Regions from separate parts of the Homo sapiens genome. Here region 1 is linked to region 2. The links are contacts of gene promoters, found by promoter capture Hi-C in human tissues and cell types (Jung and others, 2019). All regions are on one chromosome and are shown on one strand. The core of a region is centred on a gene start or on the middle of the fragment in contact, and the rest is flanking DNA. Distances in the headings are between cores, read along the strand shown.

Region 1 (2,841 bases), core at 1-2,500, 1.1 Mb before region 2:
CGTTTTCCTTGGGGCCCTCCAGCTGCAGCCAGATGTGGGGGTTGTCCGGACAGTCCTTCGGAAGGACGCTCACCCCCACGCTGAAGATGCGCTCCACATGGGGCTGCTGTTCCCGAACCTTGTTCTCAGCCTCCGCAGACACCGCAAAGCGATCTGGGGACGCGGGGCGGGCCCCCCAGGTAGGCATGGCTGCTGCCCCCAGCCCTGGAAGGGGAGAAGGCAGCTCAGAGCCTCATTGTACCCTCCATCCAAATCCTGGTTCCTGGGACTACACCAGCTATCAACAGGTCGCACCTAGTTAAGGCTCTGGTAAACAGCCCCAGGAGGTGACAAGCATCTGAGTCCACTGGAGGTAGGGAGGGTGTATGTCACGCAGGCCTCTCCGGAGAGGAAGTCCCGGTAAACAAGGCTGTCTATCGAGAGTGGGCGTCTGGGCTTTGGAAAAGGATGACCACAGTCCGGAGCAAGAAGGGTGGGGGGGCTCCAGCTCGGCCTGGAGGCCAGAAGGAGTCTCCTGGGGCACTCTGAAGCTTCTTAAGGACGAATCCTCAGCAGGGGATTGAACTAGGCTGTCCTCTGGGGGCCCTGGTCTGCCATTTCCAAGGTTCAAGCCACTCCCACCCCTCCCCCAGCCGTCCGCTGCCCCTCTCCGTCGGGCCAGGAGCACCGCCCAGGGCCCAGGGGCCGGGCCGGGCCGGGCCCGCCCACCGCGGACTGGGGCAGCCACCCCGGGCCGGGCCTACTCCGCACCGCGGCCCCCGCTCCCCGCTCCCGGGCGCGGTGGAGGGGCGCGCCTACCGCCTCCGCCGCCCGCGCCGGCTTCAGGTCCTCTCAGCGCCCGCCAGGCCCCCGCTTTGCCCGCGCCCCCAGCCCAGGGGACAAGGGCAGGGGGCCCGAATCTGGGCGGGCCTTCCCGGGTTCCTCACCCAGCGGGGACCTCTCTTGTCCACATCGCACGCAAACTGTTTCTTGAGTCACTTCCTGGCCTGGGGCGGAGTCAGCCCAGCTCCTCCCGGCTGCGCGCCCTCCTCCCAACCCCGCCGCCGCGCCCAGAGGCCCCGACGGGCCCGCTCGGCCTAGTCCCCTCGGCGGCTCCAGGGCTCGCCCCTTGCGCTTCTCACCAGCCCTCCCGTCTGTCTCCCGGCCCTCAGGGTCCTCGCGCATTCTGCGCAGTTACTTCTCGGAAAGGGGAACCATGCGTTGAAAGTTGTTTCCCGCGAATAAAGATGTGGCCGACCAAAGAGGCAGCGTGACTGGCCCACTGGTGCTCTAGGCCCAAGCACTTTCCACCAAAGCAATCGTGGCGGAGGGGGTAGGCGGGAGGCGGGAGGCGGAGGGTACCCGTGGTGGAGTACCCCTTTCTTCCAACAAACGGAAAGATGCCACGAAGAAGGGCTGTTGATTTGTGGGGGATTTTGAAGAGAGGAAGAGTAGGAGGAAGGGGTTGAGGGGCTGCCTCTGGCATATGCACACACTCACACATTCTGTCACACCCGTCACACACACATACCATGTTCTCCATCCCCCCAGGTCCAGCCCTCAGTGCTGTCCCATCCAGCAGGGCTGCCCTGAAGCTCTGGCTGCAGCCCTCCCGTCCAGTGGGCAGGCGGCTTCATCCCTCCTTTCTCTCCCAAAGCCCAACTGCTGTCACTGCATGCTCTGCCAAGGAGGAGGGAACTGCAGTGACAGCAGGAGTAAGAGTGGGAGGCAGGACAGAGCTGGGACACAGGTATGGAGAGGGGGTTCAGCGAGCCTAGAGAGGGCAGACGATCAGGGTGCCGGCGGTGAGAATCCAGGGAGAGGAGCGGAAACAGAAGAGGGGCAGAAGACCGGGGCACTTGTGGGTTGCAGAGCCCCTCAGCCATGTTGGGAGCCAAGCCACACTGGCTACCAGGTCCCCTACACAGTCCCGGGCTGCCCTTGGTTCTGGTGCTTCTGGCCCTGGGGGCCGGGTGGGCCCAGGAGGGGTCAGAGCCCGTCCTGCTGGAGGGGGAGTGCCTGGTGGTCTGTGAGCCTGGCCGAGCTGCTGCAGGGGGGCCCGGGGGAGCAGCCCTGGGAGAGGCACCCCCTGGGCGAGTGGCATTTGCTGCGGTCCGAAGCCACCACCATGAGCCAGCAGGGGAAACCGGCAATGGCACCAGTGGGGCCATCTACTTCGACCAGGTAATCCCCCTACCCCTGTCCAGGGGACCTGGAAAGACCCTGCAAGGACCTGGAAGCAACTGTCCAAGCCCACTTTGCTGTCTCTGAGGCTTTAAGAAAACAGCTTCCTACATCTTTCACTAATCTGGCCTATTGCCCCACCACCCCACCGACGGTTTCCCCTCCCTCCACCCATACGCAGCCCTCTCCTTGCCCCTTCTCACCATTTCTTTTGAATCTGTTCACTCCTATTCACTCCTACTTGCCACTCCTTCTATTCATTACTCACTGCCCCTGCCCCTAGTCCCCATGGTACCCCTGAGCCATGGGCATTTCCTGAGCCCCACTCAGCAGGCTCTGCTTCCCCCAGGTCCTGGTGAACGAGGGCGGTGGCTTTGACCGGGCCTCTGGCTCCTTCGTAGCCCCTGTCCGGGGTGTCTACAGCTTCCGGTTCCATGTGGTGAAGGTGTACAACCGCCAAACTGTCCAGGTGACCTCAGCACTGGCCCCCATCCCCGGCTCAGGAGGGTGGGGAGGGGGAAGAAGGGGAGCCCAGCTGACCTCCGGGTGGACTCTCCATTGACCTGTGTCCTGGAGGCCAGGACCAGGGGAGGAATGGGCCTGCCTTGCATTGAGTGTGGAGGATGTGCAGAGTCCAATGCTGGCCGCCCCTCAGCCCTCCCGGGAGAGCCCATTAAA
Region 2 (2,700 bases), core at 173-2,672:
CAGGACCCAGCCAGCTTCTGAGACCACTCCAAAGAGTCATGACCTGTAGTGTCCACACTAGATCCAATCTCAGTTAGATCTGACCCCCTCCCCACCACTGAACTTCTCCATCTACCCCCAAAGCCAATGCTAAGACAGAACTAGAAGGAAGAAGTGAAATCACATGTCTGGAATCCCTAAGACCCTAGTTTTTAATATTTTGCTTCATCATTCATATTTCAGCACTTCCTAATATTTTTCATATCATGGCACAAATAGAGAACTATAATATTTATGTGGCACACTGAGTGAAAGAATACAGTACCCATGATCATGATCAAAGATATCCAGTCCACAGCTCCAGCCAGCCAGCTGCCCCCAAAAGTTAAGGGTTTCACTCCTTTAGTATGCTTATAACTAACCCATTCATGGCCAGGGCAGTATCAATTGGTATTGGGATGCTTCATGCCTGTATCATGCCATTATTCCCTAATATTTTACCCAGAAAAAACATGGGCCATTATAGGGATGTTTTAAAAGAAAAGGAGAGAACCAACATAAATACAGACTTTTACATACATTATATTTCATTTGATCTGCACATTAGCCTATGGGGCATTATATCATTTTGCAGGTGAAAAAAAAAAAAACCCTGAGTTTTGAAAACTTGAATTGACTCAAGATCATCCAATGAGAGTCAGAGCTAGGACTCAAATACAGACCTTGTCTAACTCCCAAACCTTTACAGCCCCTCTGAGATCAAAATGGGAAAGTAAGCTGGAATTGCCCTGGTCCCTCACGCATACCCTGGCCAGCACACACAGGGCAGGCATTCGGGAGGGGCAGCAGACTCACTCATATCTCCAGGGGGAGATGGCCCTGCTGTTGAGGGGTCCATCTTCACTGGCCCTACAGGACTCTGGGTGGCGGTTGGGCCTAGCAGGCTCTAGGGGAGGCACAGGCACAGTGCTCCACCTCAGCAGCTCCTCAGAGGTGTCCTGCCCTTTGCTGGGGCAGCAGCTGGGCCAGTGGCTGTAGGTGTGGGTTCCCATGACCATTGCCAAGAATGCAACCACCTGTAGGAAAAGGCTAATGAGAGAACTGTCCTCACCTAATCTGGGTCGCTCCCTCATCTGCACCCTCCCCCTGGGATCCCAGTTTCTCACTCCACTTGGCCCCCAGCCCCAAACCTGGCAGCTTGGCCTCCCTCCACCCTCAGCAGCATCTCTGCTCCTCTCCCTCTCAGCACAGCCCTCAGGCAGCCCTCTGCACTGACCTGGTACATGCTGGGCACTGCACACTCAGTCACAAGTGGGGCACTGACTGACAGGCCTCGTGGAAGCAGGCTGACTGGAGCAGGTTAGGAGTCCTGATTTTATTTTCAGCAAGCCTGTTTTGTTTATTCAAATTTATTTCCACTGTCTTTTTAGGGAGTGACTTGAGGTTAAAAAACAAAACCAAAAAAACTCTGAAAGTATTTCCAAAGGCTGCTTAAAATGCAATACTCATGGAAGTTGTGATGACCATCATTATATGCCTGGTAGCTGATTGGGTAAACTTTGCTCTTTGAATTTTTCTGGCCATGGGGTCAAAGCAATAACAGTCTGCTGTTCTGCATTCTTGTGAACTGGCATTAGCGGGATTTCCCTGGTTGGTTTGGTAGCCAAAATTAGGAAATGTCTTGTGGCCTCCCTTCAAGAGGCCTCGTTTCCATGATCCCTGCTCCCCCCATCCAGGGTCTGGTTTCACCATTCCCCTCTTCCCAGGTGTCCCTCTGATCATCCACCTTCGTGATTATTTCCTTTCCCTTAGACATCCTTTGACTCCCATCCCCTTTGTTCTCTGACCTCTTCCACATTTTCAATGACCCCAAAATTCTATGACCCCCATCAGCTATGACTTCTCCCCCATTGTCCATGACCCACTCCCTAACTCCCCCTTGCCCTCGCCAGTCACTGCCCCCCACCGGGGATACAAGCCTACCCTCACAGGGCTGCTGGAAGACCCTGACTTCCTAAGTTTGTTGGCTGGATGGGCAAGGTCTGATGGAAGAAGCTGTGGGTGAGTGTCCCCATTGCACAAATGAGAAGGTGAAGCAAGGAAGAGGAGGGAAACTGAAACAGCCTCACCTAAGACCCAACAGGAAGGAGGTCTCAGTTCCAGGAACCAACCTGCTCTCATTCACAGAGCCTTGGGGACCAAGCCCATGACAGGGTCAGCTACTGCTTTCAGGCCATGAAGTGAGCCCACTCAGCCTCAGCAGGTCCAGAAACATGGGCCACTGTTAGCCAGGAGGGTGTATGTGTGCCCCAGAAAGGCTTACAGTTGGGCTTGACCCCAAAGACACAGGTCAGCCGGGTCCAGCCTGCTTGGGAGACACTGTGCTGAGAGTGGGCCAGTGTGTCCTTCCCCCCAGGTCCTTCTCTTCATGCTTGCCTATTGGCCTGCCTCATCCCCCATACGCACCCAACATACCCATACACAGACATTGCCCCTAGAATGATGTGGCTTGATTTGCATGTGCTTTCCCTTAGAAAATACTCCTCTAGTAACCAAGGACTAGGAAATCAACAAAGGGAACCAGGAATAACTTAAACTGCAGTGAGAGGAATCTTTCCAATGCGTTAGGGCAAAGCAGCCCCAAAAGAGAGAAGTGATGAAGTCAAAGGGCAATCTGGAAAATTGGGAGAAACTGCTCTGCTCTGATGAGTCTTGGGGCAC

What was found. The method cuts DNA at HindIII sites, captures the fragments that hold promoters and counts their contacts. A contact is called where the count stands out against the background at its distance.
Region 1: the fragment with the promoter of CBLN3 here is called in contact with the fragment with the promoter of IL25 in region 2 in 1 of the 25 tissues and cell types used here (mesenchymal stem cells).

What each region holds. Positions count from the first base shown.
Region 1 is chr14:24,428,077-24,430,917 of GRCh38, reverse strand. CBLN3 (cerebellin 3 precursor) reads left to right here and starts at 1,250. Exons shown (of 3, transcript NM_001039771.3): 1 at 1,250-2,163; 2 at 2,513-2,632. The coding sequence starts at 1,864. KHNYN (KH and NYN domain containing) reads right to left here and starts at 964. Exons shown (of 8, transcript NM_015299.3): 1 at 799-964; 2 at 1-204. The coding sequence starts at 187. RefSeq lists enhancers at 1-233, 378-557 and a silencer at 588-1,127. The HindIII fragment of the contact is 5,614 bases long and covers 1-2,841 here.
Region 2 is chr14:23,371,531-23,374,230 of GRCh38, reverse strand. IL25 (interleukin 25) reads right to left here and starts at 1,422. Exons shown (of 3, transcript NM_172314.2): 1 at 1,256-1,422; 2 at 835-1,055. The coding sequence starts at 1,264. The HindIII fragment of the contact is 4,168 bases long and covers 1-2,174 here.